Linked DNA regions of Homo sapiens: region 1 is linked to region 2. Evidence: promoter capture Hi-C in human tissues and cell types (Jung and others, 2019). All regions are on one chromosome and are shown on one strand. The core of a region is centred on a gene start or on the middle of the fragment in contact, and the rest is flanking DNA. Distances in the headings are between cores, read along the strand shown.

Region 1 (5,698 bases), core at 480-2,979, 220 kb after region 2:
CCAGACACTGGTTACCTTTATGTGGCTGCACAAGAGGCTGAGTTCCCAGGGAGGGGCGAGGTGGTCTGGGGCTTTCAAGCCGTGGTGGAACCCACGCCTGAGAAGGGAGGCCTGCCGCTCCCACCACAGGAAGCCTGGCCCCCGCCAGCAACAGAGAGACTCAGAGCCCAGGCCTCAGTGCCCTCATGGGATAAGTGGCATTTTGGTTCCTGTTTCCTTCCCTCTCTGTTTTTCTTTTTCTTTTCATAGATTCTCCAAGCAAATATTAAACATGTCCTGCAAATCTCAGGAATCAGCACACAGAGAAACACAAAGAAGAGTAAGTGGCCTTCTTCCAAGACCTGGTTTATCAAAGGTCTGAGGCAGTCCTGATCCGCTGCTCTCCTCCTGCTGGCTGAGCCTTGCCACTGGCTCAGTGGCCCAGGGTGCCAGCTCCCTTTCCTGGGCCTCCCGGGAAAGGGGAGGGAGAAGGTCGAGGGAGCAAGAGGGTTCCAGGGCTGCCTCCAGGGCTGGCCTGGCAAGTTGCAGCTCTGTCCCTGGCGATTTCCCTGCAGCCAATGGCTGTGGAAGAGGAAAGGAGAGGACCTTTTGATGTGGTGGAGAAGCATCATTGTAGAAGGGAGAGGAATAAGTAAAAGGTTGGCCAGGGAACCATGGCCGGGCACGGTGGCTCCTGCCTGTATTCCCAGCACTTTGGGAGGCCAAGGTGGGCAGATCACTTGAGGCCAGGAGTTCAAGACCAGCCTGGCCAACATGGTGAAACCCCTTCTCTACTAAAAATACAAAAATTAGCCGGGCGTGGTGGTGAGCACCTGTAGTCTCAGCTACTTGGGAGGCTGAGGCAGGAGAAGCACTTGAACCCGGGAAGCGGAGGTTGCAGTGAGCCGAGATCGCGCCACTGTACTCCAGCCTGGGCGACAGAGTGAGTGAGACTCCGTCTCAAAAAAAAAAAAAAAAAAGTAAAATGTTGGCCAGGGAGCCTTGCTGGCCTCCTGAAGGCAGCCAAACATTAAACACACCTACAGTCACAGAGTCCAGCTTAAGGAAGAGGCAGACCAGAAAGTGAAAGTGAAGAAAGAACGGGAGGAGAGATGGGTGGGGGCGCGGATCAAGGCAGAAAAGGGAGGCAAAAGGCAAGGCTCCTAGGGACAGAGAGTGGTGACATGCCAGCTTCTGTTCGTTAAAACCCTGCTCTGGACCATGAACACTGCTAGGCAATTTCGTTATGACAGCTCCTTGCATCCTCCCAGCATTTTACAGCTAAGGAAACTGAAGACCGTGAGGTTAAATTCTTCACCCGAGGTCCACAGCTAGGGATTAGCAGAATCAGTGTTTGAACCCAAGGCTGCCTGACTCCAGTGTCACACCCAAACTGTTCCTGTCTCTCTGTTAGCAGTTCTTAGTTGCTGGGGATTCAGACTCTATTTTGTTGCTTGTGTAGTTCAATACAGCTCCCCCCACTGTGGCCACATTGCAGCCTACAGATGCAATAAAAAGGAGGGGAAGGCATGCATTTCCTTTAAGGGTACACCTGAGGTCAGGAGTTCGAGATCAGCCTGACCAACATGGAGAAACACAACTCTACTAAAAATACAAAATTAGCTGGGCATTGTGGTGCATGCCTGTAATCCCAGCTACCCGGGAGGCCAAGGCAGGAGAAACGCTTGAACCCAGGAGGCAGAGGTTGCGGTGAGCCAAGGTTGTGGTGAGCCGAGATCACACCATTGTACTCCAGCCTGGGCAACAAGAGCGAAACTCCATCCATCTCAAAAAAAAAAAAAAAATGCTGTGAATCTTGAACAGAGAATGCAATAGACAGCAAGAAAGGTCTGGTGGCATCTTCGAAGGAGCCTTCATCTCCTATACTTTCAGGGTGGATATGATGGAAGACTCAGCCCAGGGCCTCATTGTGCATGTAGGAGTTCCAAGTAAATGCTTAGGAAAGGGCATAGTGGGGACGTAGTGGGACCCTGAGACTTAGAATAGGAGCATCTAAGTGGTCACAGACAAGGCTGAGACTCTGGCACTTTTGAATTCTCAAATCCTTCAAAGCTCCCTTGTCTGTTCAGGCAGGTCCTCCCGTGTAGAGGTAACCAACTTATCCCTGCCTAAGGAACCTTCTGTGACTGCACCTAGGACAGTTGCTTCACTAAAAAGGGACACCAGATCTTCTCTTCATTCCTCCAGCATCAAAAGGAGAGTTAGATCCCAACATAGCCCACTTGGGCAGTACAAGGCCTGCTCTAGAAAGAGAATGTCTATACACTAAAGAAGTGGCAGGACCTTGCCAGTTCAAATCCACAAGGGTCTTGGGAGCACGTGTCGGAGAGGATTCTAAGCATTGTGTTAGCCTAAAGATGGTAAACACAAGGCTTGGCTGGGCACAGAGCCTCGTGCCTGTAATTCCAGCACTTTGGGAGGCTGAGGCGGGCGGATCACTCTTCAAACTCCTCAAACTCAGGAGTTTGAGACCAGCCTGGCCAACATGGTGAAACCTGTTTCTACTAAAAATACAAAAAATTAGCTGGGCGTGGTGGTGGGTGCATGCCTGTAGTCTCAGCTACTCGGGAAGCTGAGGCAGGAGAATCGCTTGAACCCAGGAGGCAGAGGTTGCAGTGAGCCGAGATCGTGCCATTGCACTCCAGCCTGGGTGAAAAAGTGAGAATCTGTGTCAAAAAATAAATAAATAAATAAAAATAAATAAATAAATAAAAGGCTTGATTGGGCTGAATTCACTGATACACTCACCCAGGTTTGGGCTTTGGAGTTGGCATGAATAGTCTACAATGGCTAACTCAGACTTGACTTAATAGAGACGTAAAGTTAAAGTTCCACCACCCAGAAGCAGCTGGGTTAGAGGGCGGTGAAATGGCTGCTGAAAGTTCATTTACAGGGTTAGCCTGGAGACAACACCCTGTTGGCTTCAAGTGTTGGCCTACAGGTTGCAGTTATGTCTTTTAAAAGCTGCTAACATTTGGAATTGTCTCCTTCAAAACTAGAAAGTGTACATCTAGATGCCGGGCGTGGTGGCTCACGCCTGTAATCCCAGCACTTTGGGAGGCTGACGCAGGTGCATCAGGAGGTCAGGAGTTTGAGACCAGCCTGGCCAAGAAGGTGAAACCCCGTCTCTACTAAAAATATGAAAATTAGCTGGGCTCTCCCTCTCCCTCTCCCTCTCCCCTCTCCCCTCTCCCCTCTCCCCTCTCCCTCTCGGTCTCCCTCTCCCTCTCTTTCCACGGTCTCCCTCTGATGCCGAGCCGAAGCTGGACTGTACTGCTGCCATCTCGGCTCACTGCAACCTCCCTGCCTGATTCTCCTGCCTCAGCCTGCCGAGTGCCTGCCATTGCAGGCGCGCGCCACCACGCCTGACTGGTTTTCGTACTTTTTTGGTGGAGACGGGGTTTCGCTGTGTTGGCCGGGCTGGTCTCCAGCTCCTAACCGCGAGTGATCCGCCAGCCTCGGCCTCCCGAGGTGCCGGGATTGCAGACGGAGTCTGGTTCACTCAGTGCTCAATGGTGCCCAGGCTGGAGTGCAGTGGCGTGATCTCAGCTCGCTACAACCTCCATCTCCCAGCCGCCTGCCTTGGCCTCCCAAAGTGCCGAGATTGCAGCCTCTGCCCGGCCGCCACCCCGTCTGGAAAGTGAGGAGCGTCTCTGCCCGGCCGCCATCCCATCTAGGAAGTGAGGAGCGCCTCTTCCCGGCTGCCCATCGTCTGAGATGTGGGGAGCGCCTCTGCCCCGCCGCCCCGTCTGGGATGTGAGGAGCGCCTCTGCCCAGCCGCGACCCCATCTGGGAGGTGAGGAGCGTCTCTGCCCAGCCGCCCCGTCTGAGAAGTGAGGAGACCCTCTGCCCAGCATCCGCCCCGTCTGAGAAGTGAGGAGCCCCTCCGCCCGGCAGCCGCCCCATCTGAGAAGTGAGGAGCCCCTCTGCCCGGCAGCCACCCCGTCTGGGAAGTGAGGAGCCCCTCTGCCCGGCCGCCCCTACTGGGAAGTGAGGAGCCCCTCTGCCCGGCCACCACCCCGTCTGGGAGGTGTACCCAACAGCTCATTGAGAACGGGCCGGGATGACAATGGCGGTTTTGTGGAATAGAAAGGGGGGAAAGGTGGGGAAAAGATTGGGAAATCGGATGGTTGCCGTGTCTGTGTAGAAAGAAGTAGACATGGGAGACTTTTCATTTTGTTCTGTACTAAGATAAATTCTTCTGCCTTGGGATCCTGTTGATCGGTGACCTTACCCACAACCCTGTGCTCTCTGAAACATGTGCTGTGTCCACTCAGGGTTAAATGGATTAAGGGCGGTGCAAGATGTGCTTTGTTAAACAGATGCTTGAAGGCAGCATGCTTGTTAAGAATCATCACCACTCCCTAATCTCAAGTTCCCAGGGACACAAACACTGCGGAAGGCCGCAGGGTCCTCTGCCTAGGAAAACCAAAGACCTTTGTTCACTTGTTTATCTGCCGACCTTCCCTCCACTATTGTCCTGTGACCCTGCCAAATCCCCCTCTGCGAGAAACACCCAAGAATGATCAATTAAAAAAATAAAAATTAAAAAAAAAAAAAAAGAAAAGAAAATTAGCTGGGCATGGTGGTGGGCTCCTGTAATACTAGCTACTTGGCAGGCTGAGGCAGGAGAATCACCTGAACCTGGGAGGCCGAGGTTGCAGTGAGCCAAGATTGCACCACTGCACTCTAGCCTGTGCAACAGAGCAAGACTCTGTCTCAAAAAAAAAAAAAAAAAAGGAAAAGAAAAAAGAAAGCGTATATCTAGGAAACAGAGGGTGAAAGAGTAGCTACTCTCATGCTTACACCTAAGAACACACTTGAAGAACTCTTGCTGCCCATCCCTATGACCTTGGATTTGGGAGTCTGAATATTCTAGTGCCTGAGGTGGGAACTGTTTCTACCAGGGGATTGTACTACCATGGTCATGGTTCTGATAAATTGGAAGCTAAGGCTTCCTTCAGGCCATCTGAGGATCCTCATGTCACTGATCCAGCAGGCAGGGAAGGAAAGACAAATGTCTTTCCTTTTGGCCACCCAACATCTGAACCTTCTTCCTATATATCTACGGTATAAGCAGATGACCTGGGCTCAGCTATATAAAAACAGCCCCTTGTCAGGCGTGGTGGCTCATGCCTGTAATTCCAACACTTTGGGAGGCTGAGGCAGGAGAATCCTTTGAACCTGGGAGGCGGAGGTTGCAATGAGCCGAGACGGCACCACTGCACTCCAGCCTGGGCGATAGAGCAAGACTCAGTCTCAAAAATAAAAATAACAAAATTAAAAATAAAAACACTCAGCCCTAAGTGAAATGGAACATGAGTAGCCCCACCTCCAGTGGCATAGGATAGAGTTCCTGGAGCAGGTGCAGCAGTGCTACTGGCAGTCTGAAGGATTCAGTGCTGGAGAGGTGGGAGGAGCAAGCAGCAGCATCTACAGTTCAGAGAACCAGTCTTCCCTGTAATTCAGAGAGATGCCACTCTCCTCCTCATGAATCATTTTACCACCTAAACCGCTAGAGTTGGCTCCTATGGCCTGTGACTGACAACTCTTACTGAAGCTGTTGTACTATTCTCTATTTCTCTGTTTTTGAAGTATTTCATAATAAAGAAAATGAATAACTAAGGAGGAAAGATGTAGGATCATCTTAATAAAAGCAGAAAAAGCATGCAATAACATTCAACATTCATAAATAACA
Region 2 (6,064 bases), core at 3,248-5,747:
TAATAGCTACATACATCAAATATAATTTCTTGTATGTCAGAAGAATTACCACTGACACATTAAGACAATTTATGTATTAACTATTAAATTAAAGGTAATTATTGCAGTACCTTTCTCCACCACTGGAGTCGATGACGTAACCAGAAATCAAGCCACTGGTTTGAAGTTCTCGGAGGAGTAAACCATACTAACGAAGCTTCAGTCTTCTCACCAATACTTTAGATATAAAACGTATCAGGAAGTTAGCTTATCTGAAAATTATATAATTTATCCCAAGTGGAAATGACTGGTTTTTGACTATTTAAATACAAGGCCAAGTTATTTGCCACTTTTTATACCTTTTAACACCATTTCGTATCTGCTTAGTGTCAAAAACAGGATGAAAACACACTCCAATCTGAGCAAGGCCATAAGGTAGCCTCTTGTTTACCAGATCCAGGCAATTAACATAGTGTTCCAAGGCACCTGTCAAAAGATAAATCAATCATTGTATACATCTAGTCCACAAACCCAAATCATTTTTGTCAATAGACACATTAATAGTAGTAATAACGTTAACACAGCATAAAGACAGATGTTGGCTAAGCTTGGTGGCTCACGCCTATAATCCCAGCACTTTGGGAGGTCGAGGTGGGCAGATTGCTTGAGCTCAGGAGTTCTGAGACCAGACTGGGCAACACAGCAAAACCCCATCTCTAAAAATATACAAAAATAAGCCAGGCATGGTGGTGTGTGCCTTGTAGTCCCAGCTACTTGGAAAGCTGGGAGGTGGATCACTTTAGTCTGGGAGGCCAAGGTTGCAGTGAGCTGGGATGGTGCCACTGTGCTCCAGCCTGGGCAACAGAGTGAAACCCTGTCTTAAAAAAAAACAAAAAAAGACAGATCACCACTTAATTCTAGGTAGTTTCACCCTGAGTTTTTAGTTTGAAGATTTTCTTTTTTTTTTGAGATGGAGTCTCGCTCTGTCGCCCAGGCTGGAGTGCAGTGGCAGGGTCTCGGCTCATTGCAACCTCCGCCTCCCGGGTTCATGCCATTCTCCTGCCTCAGCCTCCCGAGTAGCTGGGACTACAGGCGCCCGCCACCACGCCCGGCTAATTTTTTCTGTATTTTTAGTAGAGACGGGGTTTCACCGTGTTAGCCAGGTTGGTCTCGATCTCCTGACCTCATGATCTGCCTGCCTTGGCCTCCCAAAGTGCTGGGATTACAGGCGTGAGCCACCGCGCCCGACAAAGATTTTCAAATCTATAAGAAAGTTGAAAAAATAATAAACATCCATATACAATGAACACTTGTATACCCTTTACCTAGATTCATCAATTATCAACATTTTGCCACATTTTTTTCTTGTTCACTCCCAAATACTGCCGCATACATCTTCTAAAAATAAAAATATTTCCTATATACCATTATAACACCATAAAAAGTTAACCATAATACCACAATATAATCTAACATATGGTGATATTTTAGTTGTTCCAATTTTCACCCCAAATATCTTTTACTGTTCTCTTTCCAGTTAAGATTCATGTACTGCATTCTGAGTAGGTTTCTTTCATCCATTTGAATCTAGAACATTTCCCTTGCCTCCTTTCCCCCTTAATTTTGCTATTAATGACACTGACTTTTGATGTGAGTCCAGGTTAGTCATAGATTGTCTCACATTTGGGATTTGTCTGATTGTTTCCTTATGATTTAATTTCGGCTAATCATTTTTAGCAAAATACTACATAGTAGATGTGTGTATCTTATTGCATCATAACATGAGGAACATGTTATCAAATTATTCCACTACTGAAGACACCAAATTTGATTACTTGGTTAAGGTAGTAAATATCCACTCCCCAATAATATCCTGCTCCCCAACAGTATTTCACCCAGTATTTTAGAATCCATTGATGACTGTTGCTTGAATCAATGATATCGGGGTTTGCAATATCATGAAATGGTGAATTTTCTAATGTATCTTTCCTTCTACATTTATTCCATAGCTTCTGTAAAAACATAAGCTTTCTCTACCTCTTCCCCCCGCCCCCGACCTCTAGGGTCAATTATTTGTTTTTGATTAATACTATTGACTCTTAGATTTTAGTCAATGTGTTATGATCCATTACCATTAATATGTATCTTAATGTTCAATTTGTCCTAGATGTGGCCAGTGACAACCCTCCTCAAGCCAGCATCTGTGACCTTTTTATATGACCCATTAGTCTTCAAGCAATTCTTTGCTTTTTAGCACCATAAAGTGTTTCAAACTCACCTTGTACTTTCCCTAACCCCAGACCCGGAATCAGCCATTTCTCCCAGTACTGGTTCATCTTAGAAACCAAGATCTGGAGGCCGGGCGCAGTGGCTCACGCCTGTAATCCCAGCACTTTGGGAGGCCGAGGCGGGCGGATCACAAGGTCAGGAGATAGAGACCATCCTGGCTAACAAGGTGAAACCCCGTCTCTACTAAAAATACAAAAAATTAGCCAGGCGTGGTGGCAAGTGCCTGTAGTCTAGTCCCAGCTACTCGGGAGGCTGAGGCAGGAGAATGGCGTGAACCTGGGAGATGGAGCTTGCAGTGAGCCGAGATTGTGCCACTGCACTCCAGCCTGGGCGGCAGAGCGAGACTCTGTCTCAAAAAAAAAAAAAAAAGGAACCAGGATCTGGGCACTAGGTGTGCTCATTGCTACTGAGGGTCATTGCTTCTAGGAACTTTAAACGAAGAAAGTTAGGAAATATATTTTTAAAAATCATGAGGCTGGGCACTGTGGCTCACACCTGTAATCCCAGCACTTTGGGGGGCCAAGATGGGCGGATTGCTTAAGCTCAGGAGTTCAAGACCAGCCTGGACAACATGGCAAAACCTCATCTCTACAAAAAACACAAAAATTAGCTGGGTGTGGTGGCATGTGCCTGTAGTCCAGCTACTTGGGAGGCTGAGGTGGGAGGTTCACTTGAGCCCGAGGTCGAGGCTGCAGTGAGCCATGATCACACCACTGCACTCGAGTCTGGGTGACAGAGTGAGACCCATATTCAATTTTAATTTACCAATTCATATTTAATTTACCAATCCATATTTAACATTAGTTTATACGTACCTTCTTTTACATATTATCTCTTCTTTTACAATGAATATCTTGGTTCCTAATAACAACTAACCCAACTATTTGAATTTTTTTTTTTTAAGACGGAGTTTTGCTCTTGTCACCCAAGCTGGAGTGCAGTGGCGTGATCTCGGCTCACTGCAACCTCTGCCTCCTGGGTTCAAGCGATTCTCCTGCCTCAGCCTCCCAAGTAGCTGGGATTACAGGCGCTCGCCGTCACGGCCGGCTAATTTTTGTCTTTTTAGTAGAGACGGGGTTTCACCATGTTGGCCAGGCTAGTCTCGAACTCCTGACCTCAGGTGATCCACCCGCCTCTGCCTTGCAAAATGCTGGGATTACAGGCGTGAGCCACTGCGCCTGGCCTTGATTTATCCTATGATATACATGAAATAGTTTCAGAATTATAATTTCAACATTTTTACTTAGAATAAATCTAAGAAAAGTTCAAAATGTCTGTGTAGTTCCTTATGCACTTAGACTACATTGCACTAAATGACAGCACTGTGTTCAGAAGTTGCCCCGTGAAATTGAGAGCGTTCCCAGGTCCTTCGGACAGATTGTTTAAGGAACAGCAATGATTCCATGGACCAGTTTTCTCCAGGGTAGAGCACTGTTAATATATCCGACTACTTCAAAAAGATGAGAACTAACTAACTTCCTTGCATGGGAATACAGGGCCAGTTGCAATCCCCAAGATCCAGCAAGACTGCCTCGCCTTTCCACCCGACACCTGTTTTGAAGCATGAAATCGTGAAGCATACCGTGAAGAAGGTTCTCCCGTAGTTTCCCAGAAGTTTTTAATACGTTCTCAAGAAATGCTACTAGCTGTTCCTTACTCAGCTCTTTGTCTTGCAAGATTTCGCGTAGAGTTTCTGCAGAAACTAACCTGAAGGCACTGTCCCCGGGTAGCAAAGGGCCTGGTTTGTGGTGGAGGGCGTCCACCGGGAATACCTGCTCCCTGAACACCACCACCGAGGTCCACCATTCTGCGGCCAGGTTCTTCCGCAACTCTACGCCCAAGGGTCCGAAGCCGGGGTGGCACCCACTCAGAAGAGAATCCCGGCTAAGCTGCTGCTTGCTTCCACTTAGGAAATGCCTTCTCTGACAGATCTCTAACAGCGCCTCGCTTCCCTCTCCAGACCCGGGGGCTTCTGGGTGCTCGCCGTTCCCCTCGAGCTCCGCGTGCGACTTCACATGCCCTCCTTTGGGGCTACTCCTTTCCGTCAACAGCTCCGGCTGCCCCGCATCTACTCGACCCCCAAACCCAGACAACAGGCACCTGCAGACCTTATGGCAGGCCCTGACGGCTACACGAGAGCGCATCTCTCTCCGAAGTTAAAGAGCACACTCTCCCATCACTCAACGGATCCCAACAAGCCACCACTACCGTTAACAGAATCCGGAGAGGCCACGGCGCAGGCGCAACGGAGGTGAGCGTGCTTGCGGGCGGCAGGCCCCACCCCGGAAGCGCATGTCTGCGTTCCGGCCGCAGCCGTCCCCCGCCCACCATGGCGGACGCCGGCTCGGATGGTTCTCTGCTAGCTTGCCGTTCGCGTCGCGCCCCTCCCTTCAGATTGACTTTTTTCTTTCCTCGTAAGCACCAGTAAAGGTTATTCCCACCTATTTATAACCGTGGTGTAGCCACTTGAGTCACTTCCTTCTGCCACTGTTTTGCAGTCCAGAAAATTAAAATACTTCAGTATTATCCAAATCACCTTCTATATACACCTCAATCAAGCACTTGGACTAAATTTGGCATTTGGTTTCCCTTTAAACAGTTTTAGTCCTTTACGGTGATTTGTAAGCCCAGGCCTTCTTAACTAGGCAAATGCTGCCGCCAGGTGGCCTAGGCCTAACCCCAGAGCCGTTGTCTTGACGCTTAAGCTTCCGGGGAGGGGGGCGATAGGCTTCGTGACTAGGGTAGTGGTATGGTCACTTTAAATATTGCAGTGGCTTCCAAAGGGCAGTCCCCAGCCAGCAGCATCTGCCTCACCTGGGAATGCACTAGAAATAAACCAAGGGGCCCTGACATGTCTTAAACCCTCCTGGTGTCAGAGAAAACCACGTACGTGCAATTTCTTCCAGGGGCCCCTTCTATGGGTTCATCAAAACAATGAGACTTGTGACTGTTATTATTAAGAGACTCATGATTAAATTGCAGGTTTCTGATTTTGCAGTTTCTATTTAAATAGGTCGAGACCTTAAGACCTACCCAGAAAGTGGAAAAGTGGTATACCCAGACTGAGGAAGTTTGATTCCAAAGTCCATGATTTCTTATACCAGCCTCAGTTACGAAAACCTTTAAAGAGGTTCAGGGAAAAAGGAACAATCTACATTTCACTGTGAGACTACCAAACTACTACCTGATTAAGAGGGGTAACAGCTTAGCAATTGAGTTAATGTAATTCAGGAGTAAAGTTTTATCATTAGTAAAGTGCTGTACCAGGTTCAGGAAATAGTTCTTCTTTACAAGTGTATACAAGGGTTTAAAAAAAGGCCAGCTAGATAGTAATTAACTGCAAAGCTGGGTACTACTGCCAGGTGTTTTCCACATTCAGGAACTCACACCAGGTAAAAGGCCTATACGCAAATAAATAAAAAGAGAGAATGGGGAGAAAAATCACATTTATTAGTTAAGACGACCACAGGCTGGACACAACACACATGCTAAAAAGTGGACTGTCTTTTAAAACTTCCAAGGTAAATAGGTAAATGTTTTCCACAGCCCAACAATCATTTCAGTGTTTACAAATTAAAAGGCCCACGGTTAAGACATTAAACAGTAAAATATGTAATAAATGCTCCAACCTACCCTCTCCCCCGAAAGCTGCTTCTAAGTTTAAAACCATGAATTTGACTAACCATGCCATTGAAAACCATCCAGGTTACTACAGGCTGAATTAGTTTTCAATGTCTAAGTCCTAGAAATATCACTCCCTATCCCAGCCCTAGCAAATTCTAACTTTACATTTGAC

The links. The method cuts DNA at HindIII sites, captures the fragments that hold promoters and counts their contacts. A contact is called where the count stands out against the background at its distance.
Region 1: a fragment that was not itself captured here is called in contact with the fragment with the promoter of POLG2 in region 2 in 1 of the 25 tissues and cell types used here (dorsolateral prefrontal cortex).

What each region holds. Positions count from the first base shown.
Region 1 is chr17:64,712,817-64,718,514 of GRCh38, forward strand. No RefSeq gene overlaps it. Among named protein-coding and RNA genes, the nearest start is that of SMURF2, 53 kb to the left of the region's middle. RefSeq lists an enhancer at 177-226. The HindIII fragment of the contact is 7,938 bases long and covers 1-5,698 here.
Region 2 is chr17:64,492,557-64,498,620 of GRCh38, forward strand. It overlaps POLG2 (DNA polymerase gamma 2, accessory subunit), which reads right to left and starts at 4,498. Exons shown (of 8, transcript NM_007215.4): 1 at 3,851-4,498; 2 at 339-465; 3 at 111-216. The coding sequence starts at 4,412. DDX5 (DEAD-box helicase 5) reads right to left here. Exons shown (of 13, transcript NM_004396.5): 13 at 5,698-6,064. It also overlaps a transcript of MILR1 not described here. RefSeq lists enhancers at 3,675-4,534, 4,186-4,255, 4,636-4,775. The HindIII fragment of the contact is 4,462 bases long and covers 1,297-5,758 here.